Regions from separate parts of the Homo sapiens genome. Here all the other regions are linked to region 2. Evidence: promoter capture Hi-C in human tissues and cell types (Jung and others, 2019). All regions are on one chromosome and are shown on one strand. The core of a region is centred on a gene start or on the middle of the fragment in contact, and the rest is flanking DNA. Distances in the headings are between cores, read along the strand shown.

The links. Contacts are between HindIII fragments. The study calls those that stand out against the background at their distance.
Region 1: a fragment that was not itself captured here is called in contact with the fragment with the promoter of C4orf46 in region 2 in 1 of the 25 tissues and cell types used here (lymphoblastoid cells).
Region 3: a contact is called between a fragment that was not itself captured here and the fragment with the promoter of C4orf46 in region 2, in 1 of the 25 tissues and cell types used here (lymphoblastoid cells).
Region 4: a contact is called between a fragment that was not itself captured here and the fragment with the promoter of C4orf46 in region 2, in 1 of the 25 tissues and cell types used here (lymphoblastoid cells).
Region 5: a fragment that was not itself captured here is called in contact with the fragment with the promoter of C4orf46 in region 2 in 1 of the 25 tissues and cell types used here (aorta).

The regions. Positions count from the first base shown.
Region 1 is chr4:159,440,490-159,443,189 of GRCh38, reverse strand. No RefSeq gene overlaps it. Among named protein-coding and RNA genes, the nearest start is that of MIR3688-1, 310 kb to the right of the region's middle. The HindIII fragment of the contact is 3,628 bases long and covers 1-2,700 here.
Region 2 is chr4:158,670,519-158,673,218 of GRCh38, reverse strand. C4orf46 (chromosome 4 open reading frame 46) reads left to right here and starts at 1,332. Exons shown (of 2, transcript NM_001008393.4): 1 at 1,332-1,603. The coding sequence starts at 1,418. ETFDH (electron transfer flavoprotein dehydrogenase) reads right to left here and starts at 923. Exons shown (of 13, transcript NM_004453.4): 1 at 729-923. The coding sequence starts at 762. RefSeq lists enhancers at 575-1,076, 678-1,237, 1,080-1,716, 1,717-2,353 and a silencer at 1,658-1,727. The HindIII fragment of the contact is 11,975 bases long and covers 1-2,700 here.
Region 3 is chr4:159,234,972-159,237,671 of GRCh38, reverse strand. All of the region lies in intron 4 of RAPGEF2 (Rap guanine nucleotide exchange factor 2), which reads right to left. Among named protein-coding and RNA genes, the nearest start is that of MIR3688-1, 110 kb to the right of the region's middle. The HindIII fragment of the contact is 3,683 bases long and covers 1-2,700 here.
Region 4 is chr4:159,402,406-159,405,105 of GRCh38, reverse strand. No RefSeq gene overlaps it. Among named protein-coding and RNA genes, the nearest start is that of MIR3688-1, 270 kb to the right of the region's middle. RefSeq lists an enhancer at 2,584-2,700. The HindIII fragment of the contact is 5,698 bases long and covers 1-2,700 here.
Region 5 is chr4:159,199,723-159,202,422 of GRCh38, reverse strand. All of the region lies in intron 3 of RAPGEF2 (Rap guanine nucleotide exchange factor 2), which reads right to left. Among named protein-coding and RNA genes, the nearest start is that of MIR3688-1, 72 kb to the right of the region's middle. The HindIII fragment of the contact is 4,702 bases long and covers 1-2,700 here.

The DNA of each region.
Region 1 (2,700 bases), core at 121-2,620, 770 kb before region 2:
GTCTATACTAACACTAAGATACCCCATTATTATTGCAGAAATTCAACCACAAATGGTATGATGAGGTTGGAGTAATGCCAAAACTATCCTCAGGCTTCTGACACAAAGCCACAAAGAGCGACAGTACCTTAGTACATTAACAAAAATACAGAGTTCACTCTTACAAAGACCTACAAGTTTGACTTTCCCAAGTCTCATGATTGGCCAAGTTCAAAGATACCAACTGATAGTAACAAAGCTTTCAAAATCCTCATGTGTAAGCCAGCGTGTCAATTTATAAACTTTCAGCAAGAAATATATTTAGTTAGGGGTTTAGCACTTCATATTATCTAGCCAGCATATTTTGTTCCTATAGCCAAACTTCTCAGGTTACCAGGTCTCACTGGTTTACATGTGAGTTAGTTAACAGATCTAAATGTTAAACTATCAGGCTCTCAAAACATGATGCAATCCTCTCAAGAAAAGGTATATTATCTGCTCAAAGAACTGACAAGTCATTGGGTCAAGATGTTCTCTACCCAGAGTGCACCTATGTGGTCGTTGCCAACATTTGCCCCTAAAACAGGCTGATCTGTTTTTGTTTTTGATGTTTCTATGGATGACCAATTTCTCCCACTTCATTAATTAACATAGTATTTTGTAGGGGAAAGAAAAGAAATATGCCAATAATTTTAGTCAAGACTTGATCTGGACTATAAGATTATATTATGTATATTTATGCTGATGATTCTTGAATAGTTATGTATTTAATTCTTTCAGAGTAGTCTTATTGTCCTTAGTTCTATATTCTTGAAGGACATTATGTTATACCCCTAGGAAGTACCTACATTCTCTTTTGGACTTAATGATGATAGCTGGGCCCCTGGACTAAATATTTATTATAGATTCTATATGATACCGTGCTTGACCAATCAAGCTGTACATGTGCCTATCTGTCTAGTTCCATTCCTGTGCCTTCCCAGTACAATCTACATCCTAAACTCTGTTTCTACTTTCAGATCTTACACACCTTTATTAACGAATATGGCACTTCTGGCCAGGCGTGGTGGCTCATGCCTGTAATCCCAGCACTTTGGGAGGCTGAGGCGGGCAGATCACTTGAGGTCAGGAGTTTGAGACCAGTCTGGCCAACATGGTGAAACCCAGTCTCCACTAAAAGTACAAAAATTGGCAGAGCATGGTGGCAAGTGCCTGTAATCCCAGCTACTCGTGAGGCTGAGGCAGGAGAATTGCTTGAACCTGGGAGGCAGAGGTTGCAGTGAACCAAGATCATGCCCTCACACTCCAGCCTGGACAAAGTAAGACTCCATCTCAAAAAAAAAAAAAAAGGCACTTCCGCTGTGTTATGGGATGAATTGCATCTCCTCACTCCTTCACCATTCATATAGCAAAGTCCTAAGTCCCAGTACCTCAGAATGTGACTATATGTGAGGATGGGGTGTTTACGGAAGTAATTAATGAGTTCACATGGGTAGGCCCTAGTCCAACATGACTGGTGCCCTTATAAGAAGAGACAATTAGAATACAAGCACACACAGAGGGAAGACGATGTGAAGGCAAAGGGAGAAGATGGCCATCTACAAGCCAAGAAGAGAGGCCTCAGAATAAACTAACTCTACCAACATCTTGATCTTGGAATTCTAGCCTCCAGAATTGTGAGAAAATACAGTTATGTTGTTTAAGACACTTAAACAACAGTCTTTGGTACTTTGGTATGGCAGCCTGTGATGGTTAACTTTACGTGTCAATTTGACTGGGCCACAGAGTGCCCACCTGTGGCCCAATTTGGTCAAACATTATTCTGGGTGTTTCTGTGAGGATGTTTTTAAATGAGATTAACATTTAAATCCCTAGACTGAATAAAGCAGATTGCCCTCCTTAACGTGGGTGAGCCTCATCAGATCAGTCAAAGGCCTGAATAGAACAAAAGGCTGACTCTCCATTGAGTAAGAGAGAACTCTTTCTGCCTGGCTGCCTTCCACCTGGGGCATTGACTATTTCCTGCCTTCAAACTTAAACTGCCCGTTGGCTCTTCCTGGATCTCCAACTTGCCTACCACGTTAGTCTGTTTTGTGTTGCTGTAAAGGAATACCTGAGAATGAGTATTTTATAAAGAAAATAGGTTTATTTGGCTCACATTTCTGCAGGCTGTACAAGCATGGCACTAGCATCTGCTTGGCTTCTGGTGAGGCCTTAGGAAGCTTTAACTCATGGCAGAAGGTAGAAGGGAACAGACGTTTCACATAGCAAGAAAAGGGAGCAAGAGAGATGCCACACACTTCTAAACAACCAGCTCTCTCATGAACTAACAACGCAAGAACTCACTCATTACTGTGGGGAGGACACCAAGCCATTCATGAGGGACCTGCCCCCATGACCCAAACAACTCCCATCAGGCCCCACCTCCAACACTGGGGATCACATTTCAACATGAGCTTTGGAGGGGACAAATATCCAAACCATATCACCTACTCACCCTGCAGATCTTGAGGCTGGTCAGCCCCCACAATCACATGAGCCTATTCCTTATAACATATGCATTCTGTTTCTCTAGGGAACCCTTGACATATAGCCCTAACAAACTAATACACACCGTGAGAGGAGTAAAAGCATTATCAACGTTCTCATTCGAAAGCATAATTTTAAAATTTCTTAAAGTTGAAAGTTAGGATAAGAAGCATGAGATACACAGAAATTCAT
Region 2 (2,700 bases), core at 83-2,582:
GATTCTCCTACCTAAGCCTCCTGAGTAGCTGGGATTACAGGAGTGGGCCACAACGCCCAGCTAATTTTTGTATTTTTAGTAGAGATGGGGTTTCACAATGTTGGCCAGGCTGGTCTTGAACTCCTGACCTCAGGTGATCCATCCGCCTCAGCCTCCCAGAGTGCTGGGATTACAGGCTTGAGCCACCACGCCCAGCCCTTAATTTTAGACAACGCAGAAAAACTGGCTCCAGATACACTTGGGTGACTTGGTCAACATATGAATGTTAACCATGATGTGACAGATCAGACTTCAATTTCTTTAGACTGAACTAGAATGGCTCCGAAGACGAAAGTCAGGTCAGGACCAGGGAGAAAAACTGGGCAAATACGATTTTTTTTTTTCCATTTCCAACAGAGGTTTGAAGATTAGAACCAGGATTTGGGAAGCCTCAGTTCAGGAGTCCACCGAGGTGTGTGTGTGTTGACAGGTGGTGGTGATGCCGAGGGCGTGTTGACAAGTTTTCCCCGCCCTTGACCTTTAGCCTAGATATTAATTCTACCAACTGGGGCAACCCCAGAGGGAGGAAGCCAGGGTCCCCCAACAGGCTGACAGCGCGTGACCTTTGCCCTAGATAGCCTGAGAAAGCTGATGAGAGAAGGGGCGAGAGGTGCCTACAGCCCCCAGGACCGGCCTTGTCCCTTTTGCCCTAACTCCTCCACTTATCCCCACCGCCCGTTTCCTCTCACCCAGGCAGGACAGCTTGGCTAGCGGCACCAGCATGTTCAAAGTCACCAGGACTCTCGGTCGGACACAACAGGAGGACTGTCCGCTGCTCGCGGCGGGCGCTGGACCTCTAGGCCGCGGGGGGCGCCATCACCTGCCGGAAAGCAAGAACTCTGCTGCAGTTCGCCTCCCCGCTCTGCCGACCGCTCTTGCTTCACGGCGTTCCCACCTCCTTCTCGCTCTGCGCCGGCGCCATGGATGACGCAACGGCCAGCCGAGGCTTCCGGGTCATGTACCAAACCAGGGAAAGATAAGGGACTCCAAGTCCCAGCCGGGGAGCGGTGAAACAGCCACAGCGCGGCCAGAGGGGTCCGCGAATCCCACAGCACGACGCACGCGCAGTGAAAGGCAGTAGAAGGCGGGGCGACGCACACGGCTTCCTGGGAGGTGTAGTTTTCTCTACGAGTGCCCTTCGAGATCGATTGGAGGCTCGCGCAGGAGCCGTGAGTTGCCTAAGGTGAATTGACTCATATGATTGGCTGTCCCGAAAAATGAAACGTCTTTGTGGTCCGGGGCTGAGACCCACGAGGAGACTGGGCGGGATTTCTGGCGTTAGGAGGCGGGGCCTTTCGGCTTTGGGCGCGAGTGGTTAAAAGACAGTTGGTGTCGGTTCGGCTTCTCGGGTCGGATTCCGCGGTCCCAACCCTTCCCCATGGCCGACCCTGAGGAGTTGCAGGTTTCTTCGCCGCCCCCGCCGCCTCCCTCTTCTCCCTCCTCTTCAGACGCCTCTGCAGCATCTTCCCCGGGCGGCCCAGTGAGTTTGGGCTGGCCAGTTCCGAGCAGGAGCAGCGGCCCAACGGTGGACCAGCTGGAGGAAGTGGAGCTGCAGATCGGAGACGTGAGTGTGGTGTCGGGACCGCGTCCCCCCTCGGCGCCTCTGGGAAGACCGGCGGCGGCGGGGCTCGCGAGGCTAGGGAATCGGTCCCCCAACCCCCATGACCCGGGACGACCGGCCCTTCTGCGCCCCAGAGCGTGCGGGCGGGAAGCGGGGGGGATGCCAGCAGCTAAAGTGCCACCCCTCTCTGAGGGTTCCCCCTTTAGATTTAGTGGTGAGGAGTCTTAAGGGGTTTTCCTTCCACCCGCCCCACCCCTCACTGGTTTCTTTTTGTCTCGCCTTCTGGTTTCAATCATCCGCAGTAACCCGAAGCCACGCAGCTCTGCGCTGCCTGTTGCTGGCTCTCTGCCTCCTCCTTTCCCATCGGAGAATAGTTTTCATTGCATGGGTTTCGGAGAATAGTTTTCACTGCATGAGTTTGCTGGCTTTCTGTGGGTACTTGAGATCAGGCTGTGATTTCTTTCCATGGGACTTAGAGCCTGCTGTTCTAGTTGGCCACCTGCCCAGGGACAGCTGATAATGCCATTGTCTGCCCCAGGCCTGCTTAGCGCTGGACCCAGCTTGAAGGGTTTAGGTCACGTGGATTGGCTTCTTTGACGGTTTAGTTCAGGACTCCTCCCTTTGTATGATTGCTAGAATGCATACTTAGGATAGTTTCTGTTAAATCTCGAATCCCCAGAAACTAGCACCCCACCTCCCAACCGTAACTCACACACCACTGGAGGGGAGAAGACAGGGAAGGGGAGTTTTATGTTCTCTTGAGTGGGTCAAGTGGAATGAGGTATGTAGAGTGTAACCTGGGAGAGTTCTGTGGCCTGACCTTTCCTGCAGATTGGAAACTAGGGGATGAACTAGATTATCTCATTGCTCCGCAAGTATTTTTTTTTAAGGATGACTAGAGTGCTTAACCAGCTTTTATTTTTGCAGAACAAACTGATTGCAAGTAAATATGTAGAATGAAGTGCTAATGTGTTATTGAGGAACACTGTTTTATTTTATATCATTGGTGAAGAAAACGTTTGGCTGAAAAGTGAATTTTCCACCAGGAGCTGAGTGTTTTCTGCATTTGTGTGTGATTTTTTAATGTTATTTGTCAGAGC
Region 3 (2,700 bases), core at 107-2,606, 560 kb before region 2:
TTAAAATTCTACCAAAAAACTATTTCATTGAACAATTTTTTTCCAAGTTAATTAGGCACTGTGAGGGACTCCTATGGAAATTCTTGTTCTATTTATAATCCTCTTTATGTCATAGTAATACACATATTTCAAGTATTAGGAGCCAAGTCACGTAAGAGGAAGAAAACAGAAAAGCCAACATTCTCCTTCTATCATCTGCAATCTCTAGCAAACTATCTTGACCACATCATATGATAAATTTTATTTGTTTACAGGTTATCAGGTTAGACTAGGCCATCACTTAAGTCCTTTTCCTTAATAATAATTATCTGATTGTTAAAGATAATTAAGTCCTTTTCCAAAATCATTTCCGGCCACGCGCGATGGCACCTGCTTGTAATCCCAGCATTTTGGAAGCCTGAGGAGGGCTGATCACTTGAGCCCAGGAGTTCGAGACCAGCTTGGGCAACATGGTGAAACCCCGTCTCTACTAAAAATACAAAAATTAGCCAGGCATGGTGGTACAAGCCTGTAGTCCCAGCTACTCAGGAAGTTGAGATGGGAGGATCACTTGAGCATGGGAGGCAGAGGTTGCAGTGAGCCAAGAATGTGCCACTGCACTCTAGCCTGGGCAACAGAGTAAAACCCTGTCTTGAAAAGAAGAAAAAGTTTCCATGAAAATCAAAACCAGCATCATATTTAACATATTTGAAAAAAAATTTTTTGATATTCATATATACATTCACACATATATGCCCACACAAACATACACATTAGAGTACTTTTAAGTGAAAACATTTGCCAGGAACAACATAATAAATCTATCTTCATGTTACTTCTCATGCAATTTAAATGACCTGAATTTTTACACATTTCTTTTAGCTTACAGTTAAATACAACTGAAATTCCATAACTCTTCAATATACACAAAAGTTTGAGTTTCTGAATCTACCTATTTGCAATTTAATTTTTTAAAATGAAGCTTATAATTATACACTGCAAATAAATAATCTCAATGTGTTAGTAAAATATGTGGCAGGTTACAGACTTGGACAAGTTTATAAATATAGTGGTCTAATGTTTATGCGTTTTTAAATGTAACATAGTAAAAAATCATAAATGTTTGTAATGTATACACTGTTCATATAATACTTGATACAAAAACATATGCTAGAATTGTTTACAAATTTTAGCAGCAAAAGATGTTAATGTTCACATAAATAAACTATATAACTGTTATTTATTTTATATATAAATCTAGTACCATCTTCACCACTCCAGGATTTAAGGCGTAAATCCTCTTACCAATTAGTCATTCGTTCAACAGAACTTCATGGCTAGGAAGTCACACTTCAAGTTGCACTAGCACACTATTACTTTGGGGATGAAAAGTTTACATTTCCTAAAATGTGCTACACAAAAACATTTCCATAAGTGTTTTTCAGAGAGTCAGTTGCACTACAGCCTGATGAAACTTTTTCAACCATAAAAAGACTCGAGTTCCATAAACCGTCACAAAGATGTGAACAGGAGAAACTGCAGACTCTCCATCAGATATATTTATTGAATAAGCTGAATGGAAAAAGCAATGTGCACAGAACACACATTAGCAAGGGAGAATATGTTACTTCATTTACTCAACAATCTATTTTTTCAAACACAGCCAGGAATGCAGAAAGGAAGAGCAGCCTCAAAGGAGCCAAAGAGTAGGTCATGAGTGCACACGCTAGGCCTGATCAGTGACAAAGCCTCTGAGCTCTCTCACAGAGATGATGTGCTCTTAGCTCACAAACCAGAAGCTATAAGGTTGGAAGAAACAGACAAAGCAATGGAAAAAAAAATGTTAGCTAGAAATTAAGTCCACAAGTTACTTTTGCTTCTGCTCTCTGATTCTTTGAAACAGTAAATACATAAACAAAAGCAAGTAAATATGATTATTTACTACATTTTCAAAAATCTTTGGCGAAGTTCTACACAAATAAACTGAAAAAATTCAGCTCTGGAAAATAAGGACAGACTTAAAGGCAACAGATAAAGATGTATAGGAGATAAAGTACCTCACAGACAATATAAAGAACAATCCTTTTAAATATTTTAGATTACTTAGTGGAAAAAAATGGTGCAAAATCTTCAGGATTGCAAATAACAAATACACTTTGAGAGAGTGAAACAGAAAACCAGAACAGTAAGAACAAAGTACAAGACATTTTATAAAGAGTGTGAGTGCAGGCAAGCCGTAGAGGATCCAGTGTGCACAATGAAATGCTCTACACTGAAAAAGTGATCAAATGCACAGAGCATTTAACATTATACTCAACAACAGGTTCTCAGCTTTCAGTTAAAAGTTATTAATAAAAACGAAGTCTTTGAATGCATTAGCACAGCAAGATGCTTACACAACAAGTAAAATTATAAACAAAGACAAACTTTGAAATGATGGACACACAAGGAAAGAATCAAAAACAATAATTACAATGCATGCCCTTATAGAAAATCAAATCTATAAAAGGGTATTACCCTGGAAGAGTTTCTAAGGGGAAAAACACAGAACTGAAAAGTTTCTCACAAAAAATTCAGGGAATCCAAAGGGCTTTCCAAAAGACCAGATGTATAGATTAAGATAATTTTTCATAGGCTGGGCACGGTGGCTCATGTCTGTAATTCCAGCACTTTGGAAGGCCGAGGTGGGCAGAACACTTGAGGTTAGGAGTTCGAGACCAG
Region 4 (2,700 bases), core at 61-2,560, 730 kb before region 2:
TCACGAGGTCGGGAATTCAAGACCAGCCCGACCAACATGGAGCAATCCCATCTCTACAAAAAATACAAAATTAGCCAGCCATGGTGGTGCATGCCTGTAATCCCAGCTACTTGGGAGGCTGAGGCAGGAGAATCGCTTCAACCTGAGAGGTAGAGGTTGCAGTGAGCCGAGATCGTGCCATTGCACTCCAGCCTGGGCAACAAGAGAAAAACTCCATCTCAAAAACAACAAAAAAAGAAGAAGAGGCCATGTAGACGTTGTTACTGACATTGACAATAGCTCTGGACTGATGGGCTTGAATATCTGATAGAAAGGGTTCTGGAGAGATGATGCAGTGAAGTGAAGGCAGAGAGCATAGCAAGTCTTCCCAGGAGTTCTGCTACAAAGGGGAGCGGAAGATCCAAGCAGTAATTAGAAGGCAAAGACTGTATCATACTTGCATGCTAATGAGAACAATCCAGTAGGCTAGAGGAAAGATAATAAATGACAGAGAAAGAAGAATTGTAGGAATTGAGAAAGAATAAAATATGGTGCACAGTAGAGAAATTGGCTTTAGGTAAGAGTAGGGTCAATTCACCCATTATATGTGAAAGGAAAACGGAGAATATCCACAGTTGCGTATAAAGTGGACTGACTCAGTGAATGGAAGGAGTAGATGTTTTCTTCTGATTAATTATACTTTTGCAGTTCGATAGAAAGGAAGGTCTCGGCTGAAATTTAATATTGGTGGCCATGAAGGAGGAGAAAAATGAGAGTGTAAGGGGATACCTCGCAAAACTAATAGGCCATGCTAAGGAGCACTCAAGGTTTGATGTTACAAATTTAGACTGAGACTAGTTCAGTTGTTGTTGTTGTTGTTGTCGTCATTTTCTGGCCATGGTAGCTGCTTGGTTATAGATGTTAGGGAAAATTGAATTCAATCAGGTTCAGGGGTTTGCCAGAAGGTCTAAGGAAAGAGGCGGGGATAAAAGGGTCTTAAAGATATATGCAAGGAGTAATTGCAATGATGAACCACAGACTCTAAGATACATAAGTGAAAAGCTGATAGAATCAATTAATTGGAAGTACCAATGGAATCAATAAATTGATGAGTTGGGCATGGTGGCACATGCCTGTAATCCTGGCTACTCAGGAACCTGAGATGGGGGAATTGCTTGAGCCCAGGAGTTCAAGGCTGCAGTGAGCTCTGATCACACTACTGCACTCCAGCCTAAGCAACATAGCAATACCTCGACAACAACAAAAAAAGTGTTGAAATGGGGAGCCTAGAGGAAATAAGCCATAAACATAAGAGATAGAATTCAAAGACTGGGACGCTTGAAATTAAGATTTTGGAGGTTGTGAAACCATAGGCGATGACAAAGATACGACCATTAAAGTAGGTGGCTGAGGATATAATGATGGAGGACATATCATTATAAGTGAGGAAAACAGTGAACAGAGAGGCCAGGGTGTTGATGGACTATCTAGGGGCATGCCAATGACAAGAATGATGCCCAGAGTCAAGATGGTAGGAACAACAGTGAACCGGACACGAAGATCGTCAATAAGAGGGGAAGGAGTAACCAGGAGAATGGTAGAGAATTGCAATGTGAAGAGGTAAAGGCAGGTCTAGTTTGATGGCATGAGTTTCAGAAGATCAAAACTGTTTTAGGAAATACTATGACCAATGGCTTGGAAAGAGCAATGGGGAGCCAGGAGCTACCTGCCCCACCTCTAGGCCTTGTCTGAACAGAGAGCATGAGGAAAGGACCAGCCATGTGTGAGAGGGCTTCTGAAGAAGCTAAGCTTTCAAGGGCAGCCAGACCTCAGTCAGAGCAGCACTATGTTGTTGTTGTTGTTGTTGAGACAGGGTCTTGCTCTGTTGTCACCCAGGCTGGAGTGCAGTGGCACAATAATAGCTCATTGCAGCCACAATCTCCTGGGCTCAAGCAATCCTCCCATCTCAGCCTCCCAAGTAGCTAGGACTACAGAATGGCATGGGCTATTTTTTTGTAGAGACAGTCTCACTTTGTTGCTCCGGCTGGTCTCGAACTCCTAGCCTCAAGCAATCCTCCTGCCTCAACCTCCCAAAGTGCTGAGATTACAGTCATGAGCCATCACACCTGGCCAAAGCAGCACTATCTGATAGCAATATAATGTGAACCACATACATAATTTTAAATTTTCTACTAGCCACATTTCTTTAAATCAAACAGAAATAGGTAAACAATTTAATAACATATTTTACTTAATACAATATAGACAACATATTGTCATGAGAAACCATGGAGACCAAAAGGAAGTGACAACCACATTTTTGAAGGGCTACAAGAAAAGAACTGACAGCATAGAATTTTTTTTTTTTTTTTTTTTTTTTTTTTGAGACGGAGTTTCTCTCTTGTTGCCCAGGCTGGAGTGCAGTGGTGCATTGGGCCTAGTTAATTACTAATCTCAGCTCACTGGAACCTCCGCCTCCTGGGTTCAAGTGATTCTCCTGCCTCAGCCTCCTGAATAGCTGGGATTACAAGTGCCTACCACCAAGCCCGGCTATTTTTTGTATTTTTAGTAGAGATGGGGTTTCGCCATGTTGGCCAGGCTGGTCTCAAACTCCTGACCTCAGGTGATCCGCCCACCTCAGCCTCCCGAAGTGCTGGGATTACAGGCATGAGCCACCGCGCCCCGTCAGCACAGAATCTTATACCCACCTAAGTATCCTTC
Region 5 (2,700 bases), core at 186-2,685, 530 kb before region 2:
GAAGCAATAAACAGAAACAGAAAGAATGGTGCCCATGCAAAATCTAAGCAAACTGGAACTAGAAGTTAGTGCTTTCCCAGATGATCCTGACAAAATATGAAACAAGGAGGGTGTATGGGGTACAAGAAGAGACTCCTCCCACTCTAGCAGAGCAAGTGCAATATGGCCAAGCCTGAAGCGGCCCAGGGGAGTGAGGAAGCTCCTCTAAATGCTTCACATGGACAGCATTAACAAGGTCATTAAAACAGAGAAGCAAAAAGATGGCGATTGCTTTGTGAGAAAGAATAGGCAAAATGTCCAGAAACAGTGGCTGAGCCGAGCACACGACACAGCTATCTGAGACAGGTTCGGCACAACTGAGAACCACATATAGCATCAAATACCAATTTTGGTGCTATTTTAGAAAGGTCACTTTATACTATCCAGGATGTAATACCGCACAGTATCACATTCAAAAGACAAAGCTGTTGGCATCTGGAGAAAAGGAGACAGGAATCATCATCGAGGGCTATTGATCACATGCCTATAAAACAAGAAAGTGAAATAAAATGAAGACTAACAAAGGTTCCAATAACTACATGGGGACCACAAGGAACTCCAGAGGGCCAGCCACCCATGACCAAAAAATAGAAAAACACCTTTATTTTCCTGTATCTGCGGTCTCACCAACACCCTCCAACCAAAAGATAAAGGGACAACTTCCGAAGCTTCTCCCTCTTCACAGCCTATCATCACATTCTGCGGGTTCCCCTCCCAAGTCTCTATCGAAACCCTTTGCTACAGTTCAGGGTCCCATTTTTGCTCACCTACACTGCTGTTATTACAGACTTCTGGCCAGCTTAGACTTGTGCTCTCAAATATACGATTATGCCAAAAAACCACAGTGAAAATTACTTATTTACAACAAATTATCCTCTATCCTTTTATAGGCGTCCCGCAGACAGTTGAGATCAGAGGTTTTCAATGTCAAGAGCCCTTGGGATTTCAAGGCGTCCAAACCTCTTTCAACCATAATAGCTACTATTGTTGGGCTGAACAGGATTTTCTATGAACAAAGTGTTCCACGGCTTCAAAAAAATAAGTTCTAACAATGGCCACCTTCCAATAGACAGATGGCTTTCCAGATACACAATAATTTTAATCTTTTTCACAAATACATTACATCATTTCTGTTACTGGATTTATTACAGTTTAAAAATTTGTATATTTTTACTCCTCTGATGGAGCGCTGAGCTATAAGCTGATAGACAAAGTTTTCATTATTTATTTTTGTATAGTCAAATGGCACAAAGCAAGCTCACTAGATAAGTTAATGCAACACAGCACAGTAAGCAACCCCAACAATGATATCAAGCCAAAAGAAATATAAAGTGCATGTACTAAAACATGAAGTATACGCCAAATTTTAGAAGGAGGACTAACAAGAGTTAAGGGCTTTGGTATTTACAATTTCCACTGTTGGAATACTGATATTTTATTATAAAATGATATTATTCATAATACTGAGTTATATGTAAATATATCAATTATATATAAATTCCCACAATAAGAAAACAAATGACATTTTTAAAGTAGAGGGTAATTTTTATTCTATTTCTTAAAAGTTCTAAATTGTAAGGAAATTACTTCATTTATAATTAAAAACTCTGAAGAAAGAAAACACCATTTTAAGATTTTCAAAAAAAATCCTTATTTTCCAAACAATAGCAATTCATTTACAAGGAATTGCAACCAACAAAACAGGAAAAGTCAGTAAGATCAATAAGAACTCTGAAAGCTGATGAAAATATTGAAGACATTTCATCTTTATACTGAAAATACAGGGGACACAGCAGACATCCTTTTTTTTTAACTAGCAAACAATGTAAACTACTAAAGAACCAGTAAAGCCAGATATTCTATAGGCTCATTAATGTTATCATTTTTTTCATTATTTATTATTTTTATTATTGTTTTTGAGACAAAGTCTCACTGTCACCCAGGCCAGAGTGCGGTGGTGCACTCTTGGCTCACTGCAACCTCCGCCTCCCAGGCTCAAGTGACCTTCCCACCTCAGCCTCCTGAGCAGTGCTGGGACCACAGAGGTGCGCCACCACACTGGCTAATTTTTGTATTTTTTTAGAGATAGGGTCGTGCCATTTTGTCCAGGCTGGTCTCGAACTCCTGGGCTCAAGCGATCCACCCACCTCAGCCTCCCAAGGTGCTGGGATTACAGGCATGAGCCACTGTGCCTGGCACAATCTTAAATTTATGAAATTCATTTTTAACATGAAAGGAAGGAGTGAAACACTGGGAGTTATGAAGCTATTCAATAAATGATAAATGAAAGGAAAAACACCAATACAAACTATATATATATATAGAGAGAGAGAGAGATTACATCAAATCGATGAGTCAGCTAAACTGAGGGTAAAGAAATAGATCCAAGGGCTCAAGGAACAATTTATCACATTTAAAAGAATCTGAAATTTTGACTCTTTTGGAAACTACTAATGGGTTATGAAATTAATTTACAAATGTCTCTTTTAGATTCATATGCTGCAATTTTATCTTCACAAGAAACCTGTTTCTCACCTGGAGTCACCTGGGTCTCAGAAAAATGAAAGGTAACTTATACACACCCAGAGACAGAGTCAAATTCAAAGCTAAATCTGCCTAACTTCACTATAGGAGTCCCAACAGCAAGAAACTGCAACAATA